Linked DNA regions of Homo sapiens: regions 1 and 2 are each linked to region 3. Evidence: promoter capture Hi-C in human tissues and cell types (Jung and others, 2019). All regions are on one chromosome and are shown on one strand. Each heading gives the region's core, a stretch centred on a gene start or on the middle of the fragment in contact. The rest is flanking DNA. Distances are from core to core; before and after follow the strand shown.

Region 1 (3,266 bases), core at 596-3,095, 230 kb before region 3:
AAAATGTTTCCAAGGAGACATGTCCCTGAGTCATCATAACTCCCAGGGTCTCCGGGCTGCAGAGCCATGCAGAGGCCCCCGCTATAAAAAGGCCGGTTTACCGCCCCGCAGGGGAGCTCTCCAGCAGTCCGGGTCCCAGGGGAGGCCTGCCTCAGACCCCCAAGTGCCCTGAGTTTATGAGAAGGCTGCAGAGCTGAACAGGGCCACTTCTACCCACCAAGTCCCCCTGGTGCCACTAAGGGGGACTTTTACCCCCGTCAGCGGCAGGGCAGCCACTCTGGGCTCAGACCATTTAGCAGGAGAAGCCATCCACTGGGACACTGGGCCCCAAAAGATTTACTGGGATTGCAGAGCCAGCCCCAAACCAGGCCTGCAGTGTCTGCCTCTCACCATTTCCCCAGCAGCCTTCCCAAGCCACCAGGGCCAGCCAGAATCACAGCACAAGCCACATCTAAGTTCCATCAACTCCTCTTCTCCCCCTGCCCTGTTCACTCACCCCAGGACCACACCAGGTGGGTCTTCGTTCTCTTCCCAACTGGTTCCTTCTCAACACCGCAGCCAGATTCTTCTTCCTAAGGCTCAGGCCAGGATATACCCTGCTCTGAAACCTTCAATGGCTCCCTAGCGCTTAAGTCCAAGGTTTAAACTCAGGTACCCACAGGGACCAGGCTGGAGACTTAACTGAGCAAGACCATGATGCCTGGGAATGCATGCCTTGCCTACATACAGGAAACTGCTGCTGCTGCTAAGTCACGCCAGGTGGGAATGATGATTGCGGGAATGTGAAGCCCTTGCTGCCACCTCTTGTGGTTTTTCAAGAGAAGCCTAGTAAACCATAGCCAAGGGGCCCCCAAAGTTGGACCCTGGCCTACGGGGTGAAGGACAAACCCTAACCCCTCCACTTGGTATCGGAGGTGCTCCATGGCTCACCCCAACCCCCTCCCCATTCTCACTCCCCACAATGCCTCAGTCTTGGCCAAGCCAAGCACCTACAGCCCCCCAGACTCACCTGCTCTGCTCACCCCCCATCCTGCTATAGGCAGTGGCTCATCACCCTCGCAGCCTGGCAGAAACCCATTGTTCCAGAGCCTCCTCCTGATGTTCAGCCATCTCTCCGAAGGCAACGTCCCCCCTCTTCATCCTTCAATGCCCAGGGGGCCCTGTTCTGGGAGCACCCACATCACTGCACTGCAGTTACCTGCATGCCCATCAGCCTTCCCCTGGAGAGGGAACCCTGAGGTCTCTCCCACCACAGGCCCTGGCAGGGGCTCCAAACACAATGGAGGGACCCTAGCTGTGGTTCAGACTCTGCCTCCATTACTCAGGCTGGAAGGACTTGGGTAACTCACGTAACCTCTCTAAGCCCCGGGTTCCTCATCTGTCAGATGGGGAACTAGTGCCCATGTAAAGTGCCTGGCACATAGAAAGGCTGAGTCAGTAGCAGCTGTTAGCATCCTTATTCAATGTGACCTCTTTGCTGCATGCTATGTGCAGTGTCTTCTATGGGATGATCTCTGAAGCAGAGACCATGTCCCCTGTACTCCCGTCACCCACAGAGACCGCTGCAACTCTCAACATGCCATAGGTGCTCAGTCAAGGTCCTCTGGTAGACTGGGTTGATGAGGCTCGGGGAGGGCAGGCAGGTAGGGAGTGCAGGTTAGAGCGAGAGGGACTGCCCAGCCACCGGAGGTCTGGCTCACCCGGGGTTCCATGCCGCAGTGAACTGGAATCTGCACTCGGGGACCAACCAACCACTCCCTGCTGCCTGCTCTCCAGGCCTCCAACTCCCACGTTCCTGGGCTCCAGGTCAGCTGACAGCGCTGCAGGGCAGGAATGGGCAAGGGGACCTGTCCAGCCCCCCAGCCAAGGCGCCTTCCCTCAGAAGCCCGGCCCACAGCTCATACACAGGCCCAAATGCCCCTCACACCCTCCTTTTGTGTTTCCCACAACTCTAGTTAAGAGCAACCCCCTTGCCTTGCACTTGAGGACACATAGCTTCCAGGCTCTGCACTAAAGGCAAGGTAGAAGAGAGGAGGGAGGGGGCAGAAACACCTCAGAAATCACTGCAGTCCAATTAGCCAGGCTTGCGCCCTTCATGCTTACAAACAGGAACGCGCATTAACATCTGCTACAAAAGCAAACATTTTTAGATATCTTCATCTTCACCTCCCTGACACTCCGTGAAAGGACTCTCAGCAGCCAGTGACTGACAGGGGAGTGCCCCTTCTTATCCTTCAGCAGGGGGCTTTCAGACGGAGAAATTAAGAAGCCACCAATCTCCCTGTCAGGCCAAGCTCCCACAGCCCCCACCTGCTCTTCCTGGGCCCCTCCTCCCCACTCTCCGCCAGGTGAGCCCCACCACACACACGATTGGGAGTCAGTGGCTGCAGGAGACTGGCTCCAAGGCACTGGGGGTAGAGGCTGTCAGATAGGTTGGGGGTCAGGGGGACTGGCCAATGCTGTGGCTAGGTAGGGACCAGGGGACCCATACCTGCCCTGAGAGCACCTTCACTAAAGAAGGGCCTTTGCAATGCAAACCTTAAACAAAACCTTGATGGCTGTACAAATTTGGAGCAAACTCCAACTCTCATACACCACTGGTGGGGGCGTTAAGTCCATACAACCACTTCAGAAATGTATTTGTCAGCATTTACTAAAGGTGAACATCATTTAACCTGTGACTCAGCAAGTCCATCCAAATCCTATATTCCCATTTTATATACATATTTACACATATAAAGAATATAGTATATAACAGTATATAATGTATTATATATAAACGCAAAATATAATATCTATATATTCCTATAATCACAATAAAATCACATACATATGTTCATCAGTAGATATGTACATGGGGCCAGGTATGGTGACTCATGCCTGTAATCCCAGAAATTCGGGAGGCTGAGATGGGCAGATCACTTGAGGTCAGGAGTTTGAGACCAGCCTGGCCAACATAGTGAAACCCTGTCTCTACTAAAAGTACAAAAAAATTAGCCAGGGGAGATGCTGCATGCCTGTAGTACCAGCTGCCTGGGAGGCTGAGGCAGGAGAATCACTTGAACCTGCGAGGCGGAGGTTGCAGTGGGCAGAGATCGTGCCACTGCACTCCAGCCTGGGTGACAGAGTGAGACTCTGTCTCAAAAAAAACCAAACCAAACCAAAACAAAAGAAGACATGTCCATGAATATGCCAGCACTATTTCAGAATGGGCCCATCAAGAATCAAACAGATAAAGAGTGGTTGGCATGCTCCTGTGACAGATT
Region 2 (3,256 bases), core at 332-2,831, 170 kb before region 3:
TCCCTCTGGAAGGTAGCAGCCCCCAAAACTCAACATCTGAAGTTGGAGGAGGAGGCAGCCCAGGGCAGAATCTTCCCCCATCAAGCAGCATCCCCATCCCAGCAAGTTTTAACTGATCTGCAGCCTTCTAGAGCAGGTCTCCACAACAGATATTAACAAGGCACCTACTGTGTGCCAGGCATGGACTAGGTGGGCTCAGCTAGGGATAGAGCAATGGAGGTTCCTGCTCACATGCAGCATGGGGTCTTGAGGGGACTGAGCAGCAGCCAGGGTCTAGTTCCTTGGACTGACACCCCACTGTCCCTACCAGCTTTGTCCCCCAGGCCCCTGCCCTGGTGCAGTTCAGTCAGAAAAGGGGAAAGACTTCTCTGCCTCCAATCCTATTCCTCCTTCAGCGCTGTGTATTTCAGGAGAGACCCCTCTGTTCACCTCGATGCCCAAGCCAGGAAACCAGGGATCCTCCTGGGTTTCTCCAAAATTTAATCCATTTCCACACCTTGTCAACGTGGTCCCTAGGACGGCTCTCGCACACACCCTCTGTTCTCGGTCCCCACTGCCTGCAGCACCATCCTCTCCATGTCCCCACCTGCCCACGCCCGTCCTTGACAGGGCATTGGCAGGAACTCTGCCAAGGATGAGTCTGAGGATGCCAAGACCCCCACCACCCACACTGCTCCTAGAACATAATACAAATGCCCCACCTGGTCCCACCCGTACACACGCTCTGCTGGCTCACCACGCTCCCCCATGCTGCCTACCACCAATCCCCCCAACATGCCAGCGCCCTCCTGACTTGCAGTCTTCAAACCTTCCGTCTGGATGGCTATCCCCATAATTTCTATTCATTGTTTCGCCCTCGTTTCCAGTGTCCATTCTTCAAAGAAGCCTTTGCTTCTCTCTCATGCCCCATGCTCTTCCTTCCAGATGCTTCCACGCCTAGAAGATAAACGTAGCTATTTATGGGGTGGTTTGTCTAGCTGTCCTTCTCCCCCACAGACTGGAAGCTCCACAGGGGGAGAGTCCAGGCCTGTCCAGCTCACTGTTGTATGCCCAGCACTCAGCACACAGCCTGGCACAAAGTAGGTGCTCAATTAATATGCATTAATTCATATTAATTATGAAAGTCCTGCTGCTTGAGTCTCGGGTAGGCAGGCAGGAAGGCCAGCCTCGCAACCTTCCTTAGCATCATCCAAAGTGCAAGGCGGGTCTCACAGAGGCTCTGTCTTCCATGCTGGGGCAGGAGGGGACCACACCGTCATGAATACCAGGCACGTAGTGGAGGTGACATGAAGCCTCAGGTATCATGTACAAAAACCTTCTGGCCCTGTGGAGCTCACTGCCAGGAAGCAGCCCTGCAGCCACTCGGAGTACACAGGCCTGCGTACGCCCCACACGGAGGATGCAGGTCCCCTGTCAGTGCCCTCCCAGCCTTTCCTGCCAGACCCACCACACTTGAGTGGCCTGGACGCTCCAATCACCCCCTCTCCCACCACACCCAGGCTTCCTACCTGCCAGGCTTCCTACCTACCTTACTATCACTGTCCCCTGACCAAGGCAGACCTCTTCTTCTCATCTCTAAGAGATTTCCCATAAAGACCCAAGTGACTGGCTTCTCTTGGAAATCTAGAAGCCATGGACAGGAACAGATGGAGGAGCAAGCATGATCTCGACTCACCAGCCCCGCCAGCCTGTACCCATGCTTCCTCACCTCCCAGGCAGAACCCCCATCATCATCAGAACCTGCGATCCCTGCACCAGCCTCGCATCCCCATCCCACCTTGGATCGCATGTTCCTAACCATGGAGAAGGCCTCACCTTCTCATCTCTGTCTGCCCCAGGGTCTCCTGCCTGGAGGGAAGCCCCAGGAAGGGTGTACAGAAGAACCAGATGGCGACACCCCCTCCATGTCTGCCACCTCCCCACATCTGGCAGAGCACCCCTATTTCATCTTGGGTACCTGAGTTACTGTTCATACACCACCCCCGTGGTTTGTCCCCTATAGTTTATTAACATCCACTAATAAACAGTGGGCAGGCCTCCCAGGGCGCCACCAAGAGACCCCTGGCTGGGTGGGCAGGGCCTTCCTTGTCCTGCCCTCTCTCAACACATTTTTCACCATAAGGGAACAATTAGGAAAAACTCCCTCCAGGTTATATTTAGGAAGGGGTGGAAGTGGGGGAAGCTTCCTCTAGTAATTTTCATTCAGTTGCACAGGACTGCCTGTCCCCACCTACCCCTGGGCTAGCACTGCAGGGCAGGCAACCGCCTCTCCCCACACACGGGTGCAAACCAAGCCCAGCCTCTGCCCAGCCCTGATTATGCCCGCGTTTAAAAATAAGATGTGAAAGATGCATTATGTAAGACCTGTAACACTCTCCTGCCCACCTCCGACTCTAGAATCAAAGATCTTCATTTCTGCCATCAAAAAAGAATGAAAGAAAGGCAGGAACAATGAAAATAGCTGCCCAACATGAGCCAGATCAAAGACATGGGCACAGAAAATGAGGAACCAGGGGGGCCTTTAATTACTGCCTGCATCCTCCGAGTCATGTGGAGAGAGGGGAGAAGAAAAGTTTTGAAGGCCACCAGGTTCCGTCCTGCTGCGGCTCCTGTTTCCACAGCCAGCACCAGTTCCCGACAAACTCGTGCCTTTCATTTCCCTCCCTTTTTTCCCTCCTTTTTCTCTGCCCCCCACATGTGAGACAGGACTCCCAGACTCCCCAGTGCTTGACGTCCTCCAGCAGAGAGAGCTCAGAGGGGCTCCTTGGAGACCCCAAGGGAGGGACACGGCTGCATCTTGGAAGGTCCTGGTGGGTCCCAACCCATCTGCCCTCCCAAAAAACAGCCAGAGGGCCTCCAGGAGGGACCCAGGGACCCACAGTGGGAGCGGGTGCTGCAGACCACGGTGCGGTTTTTTTTTTTTTTTTCGCAAGTCTCCCTGGTTGAGAGGGAAAAAAAAAAAAAAAACTCTTCAAATTCACATTGGGCAGGGCTCCGTGGGGCAGCAGATCAAACCTGAGGCCCGGCTGTTTGAGCTCAGCGGCAGAAAAAAGGATTGCCCAGGGACCGAGCTTAAGTAGAAGCTGGATTAAACTTCAAACACAAACTCCTCCTTTTTCTACACAGCAGACAGTCATGGCTAATATTGCAATATGGACTCTAAAAATGCATTACAAATAACTTACTCTGGACCCAGACTTGGGTCTTTTGTATCAAGGGGAGGAGCAAGAGAAATCATTTCAACAGAAAAGACATA
Region 3 (3,011 bases), core at 306-2,805:
TTGGCTCCGTAGACTTAGCCGCTCTCATCGTTCCCCCCTTCCTCGATCATCTCCCATCTCACAGCCGAGCGCCCGGGCACCCAACCGAGGGGCTAGAATCGGGACAAAGCAGCAGGCAAGGCCTGGAAAGGCCAGCCGCGGGGAGAGGAGGCCAGGGGAGGGGCTCTGCTGCCGGCGCGCGGCCTTTCCCCGGGGCCTCTACTCTCCAGGGGTCCCCTCGAGCTGGGGGCCCTCGCTGGAAATAGAAAGCAAAGCGTGGAGACGAAGGGATGGGTGTGTGTATCTATATATCTGCAGCTCCCCACAAACGCGCGCACCCCGGGGAGCCAGCACAGAAAGCCGGCCTGGGTGTCGAGGGTGCCGGTGCCCGGGGTCAGATCCAGGGTGCCGGTGCCCGGGGTCAGATCCGGGGCGCCCTCCGCGGAGGGGCGCGCACCGCGGCCGCTGAGCTCCCCTGAGGACCTGCGTCCCGCCGGCGCCGTGCAGACAATGAACTCCTGGCGGAGGCTCCCTGCCCGGTGGGCCTCGGTGGAGGAGGCAGGAAGTGCAGGGGCCCGGGCCGGGAGAAGGCCTGGGCAGGGGCGGGAGGGGGCGCCAGGCGGCCGGGGCGAGGGCGCGGCGCCCGGGGCGCTCGCCGACAGCGCCCGCCGCTCCCCGCGTCCTCGGGCGACCAGGCAGGGGCCAGAGAGAGCCAGCGAGGCCCGGGGCCAGCGAGGAGCGGTCGGCCTGCCGGGCGCCCGTCCTCGCCGCCTCTTCCTTCCTCCTGTCGCCCGCCCGCCGCCGCCGAGATTCGCAATCCCCGCCAAGTCGGGCCAGCACCCCTTGATTGGCCACACGGGCCCGGGCCCCGCACGGAGGGAGCGGCAAGGGCCCCTTAGCGGCGCCCCCAGGCCTGGGTCCCCCAAGGGCGACGGCGCCGAGTCCGGGCAGGGAGGGTGTCCGCGGCGTACCCCCTCCGCCGCCGCCGCCGCCGCCGCCGCCTCCGCCTCCTGCTCCCGGCTTCCTCCTCCCCCTCCTCCGCCTCCGCCTCCGCCTCCGCCTCCTCTGCCGCCTCCTCCTCCTCCTCTCGGCTCGCTCGCGCGGGTCCCCGGCAGCCAGCCCGCTCGCCGGTCCCTCCTCCCTCGCTCCCTCCCTCCTCGCTCGCTCGCTCGCGCCTCCGCCGGGCCTCGCTCGCTCACCTTTCACCGAGCGCGGCTTCGCCTGCTTCCGCCTGGACATGTCCGGGGCTCCGGGCGCTCCGTCGCCCTCCGCAGCCGGCTCCCCCCGCCGCCCCCCGCCGCTCCGGGCAGCCCTTCTCCCCCTTCTCCTCCGCCTGTCTCTTGGAAACTTTTTTTTTTGCAGCCCGGTTGGCGGCTGTGGGGAGCGGACCGCAGGTCCGGGGCGGCCTCCCTTGGGGGGGCAGCCCGGGCCGGCCGAGGCCGCTCGAAGGCGGGGGGAGGCCCGGGGGGCGCGCCGGGGCCCTGCCTGTTGCAATGCGGCAGTCCGGGGCTCCCGATCCAAGCGGCGGTCCCAGCGGCGCGGGGAGTCCGGAGGCCACTCGGCCGAGCCGAGTTATGCAAAAAAAAAAAAAAAAAAAAAAAAAAAAAAGCCGCCCCCCTCCTCCTCCCAACCCCCCGCCGGCCCCCGGCCCCTGCGGCCCCCTCCTTCCCTCCCCCACCCTACCGCCACCCTCACCCTCCTCCTCCTTCTCCTCCTCCTCCGCCCCTTGCCGGATTTTTGTGCAAAGTTTGCAGGCGTCCGGCCACGCAGCCCGGTGCGGAGCTCACAATGAACCCATCTGAGGAGGGGGAACGGGGCTGGAGTCGAGGGTATCTCAAGGGGGGAGGAGACCGGGAGGCGGTCGGGAGCGCGGAAGCTCAGTACCCCCCAGGAAAAAAAAAAAAAAGAAGCCTTCGAATTATCCCCTGCCGCACAAAAAAAAATAATAAATATTAATGGCTCAAAAATGCCCAAGCGCCTGGTTTGGAGATTATGATGGATGGGGGGCGGGGGTCCCTCAACTCAGCCTACTTGGAGGGGAGGCTCGAAACGGCCGCAGTGGCTCGGAAGCCGCGGCTCGGGGCCCCTGGCTCACGCCCCCTTCTCTGGCTCTCGGATCGGCCCGGCGCCGGCCCCCCGGAGGAGGAAGGGGCGCGCGGGGGCGCTCAGGCGGCGGCCGGCAGGCGCGCCCGTGCCCCGGGCATCGCTCAGCCCGTGCGCCGGGCCGCCGCTGCCTGCCCTCGGGCTGCGGTGCTCAGCGCGAGGCGCGCAGCCGATCCCCAGGCCGGTGCCAAGTCGCCGGCCCCGCTAGCTGCCTCCATGGGCCAGGGGCTCGGAGAGGGGGGAGGCGGCGGCCGCGGTGGCGGAAGAGGAGGACGAGCAGGCGGCGGCGGCGGCGGCCGGGCTCCCGTCCTCCTGGGCAGCGGCGGCGGCGGCTGCGCCCCGGCTCCTCCGCGCTCCAGCCGGCGCCGGCCCGCCCGCCAGCCTCCCTCGCGCTCCTGTCTTCTTTGTGGTCGCTGGCTCTCCTCCTCCCGATCCGGCTGCTGGGGCTGCACTGCAGAGACACATAATAAAGCCAGGCTTGGCTGGAAATGTAGCCGGGTCCCAGCAGGAGGATGTGAGGAGCGGAGTCCCGGCGGGGGAGCGCTCTGATCCCGTGGGGCGCCCCGCACTGCTCCGGCTCGGATCAGACGGAGAGAGGGCCAACAGCACCGAGCGATGGACAGCGCTGGAAATACAGCTCCGGCCGCCCGCAAAACCCGGACCGTGGTGGCGGCGGCGGCGGCGGCGGCAGGCACGGCGCGGGCGCGGGCACCGCACCAGCACGCGGGGCCGGGGCTCGGGCGCTGGCTGCACCGGGGGCAGGAGGAGGGAACACACTTAGGGCCCACGCGGCTGTCAAGCTCGCCAAGACGCATGAGCCTCACAAACTGTAAAAAGTGAAAGAATGGGGGAGCAAACGGAGTTGGGCTGCCCTAGTATTGCCACCTCGCGATGTATGCCTCACGCACATGAACTATCCAGGGACCTGG

The links. The method cuts DNA at HindIII sites, captures the fragments that hold promoters and counts their contacts. A contact is called where the count stands out against the background at its distance.
Region 1: a contact is called between a fragment that was not itself captured here and the fragment with the promoter of ZNF423 in region 3, in 2 of the 25 tissues and cell types used here (lymphoblastoid cells and mesenchymal stem cells).
Region 2: a fragment that was not itself captured here is called in contact with the fragment with the promoter of ZNF423 in region 3 in 2 of the 25 tissues and cell types used here (H1 embryonic stem cells and mesenchymal stem cells).

The regions. Positions count from the first base shown.
Region 1 is chr16:49,621,411-49,624,676 of GRCh38, forward strand. All of the region lies in intron 5 of ZNF423 (zinc finger protein 423), which reads right to left. Among named protein-coding and RNA genes, the nearest start is that of LINC02179, 160 kb to the left of the region's middle. The HindIII fragment of the contact is 3,324 bases long and covers 184-3,266 here.
Region 2 is chr16:49,685,144-49,688,399 of GRCh38, forward strand. The region is part of intron 3 of ZNF423 (zinc finger protein 423); the gene reads right to left. Among named protein-coding and RNA genes, the nearest start is that of ZNF423, 170 kb to the right of the region's middle. The HindIII fragment of the contact is 5,543 bases long and covers 1-3,256 here.
Region 3 is chr16:49,854,557-49,857,567 of GRCh38, forward strand. It overlaps ZNF423 (zinc finger protein 423), which reads right to left and starts at 1,556. Exons shown (of 8, transcript NM_001379286.1): 1 at 1,179-1,556. The coding sequence starts at 1,218. RefSeq lists a silencer at 800-1,059. The HindIII fragment of the contact is 13,140 bases long and covers 1-3,011 here.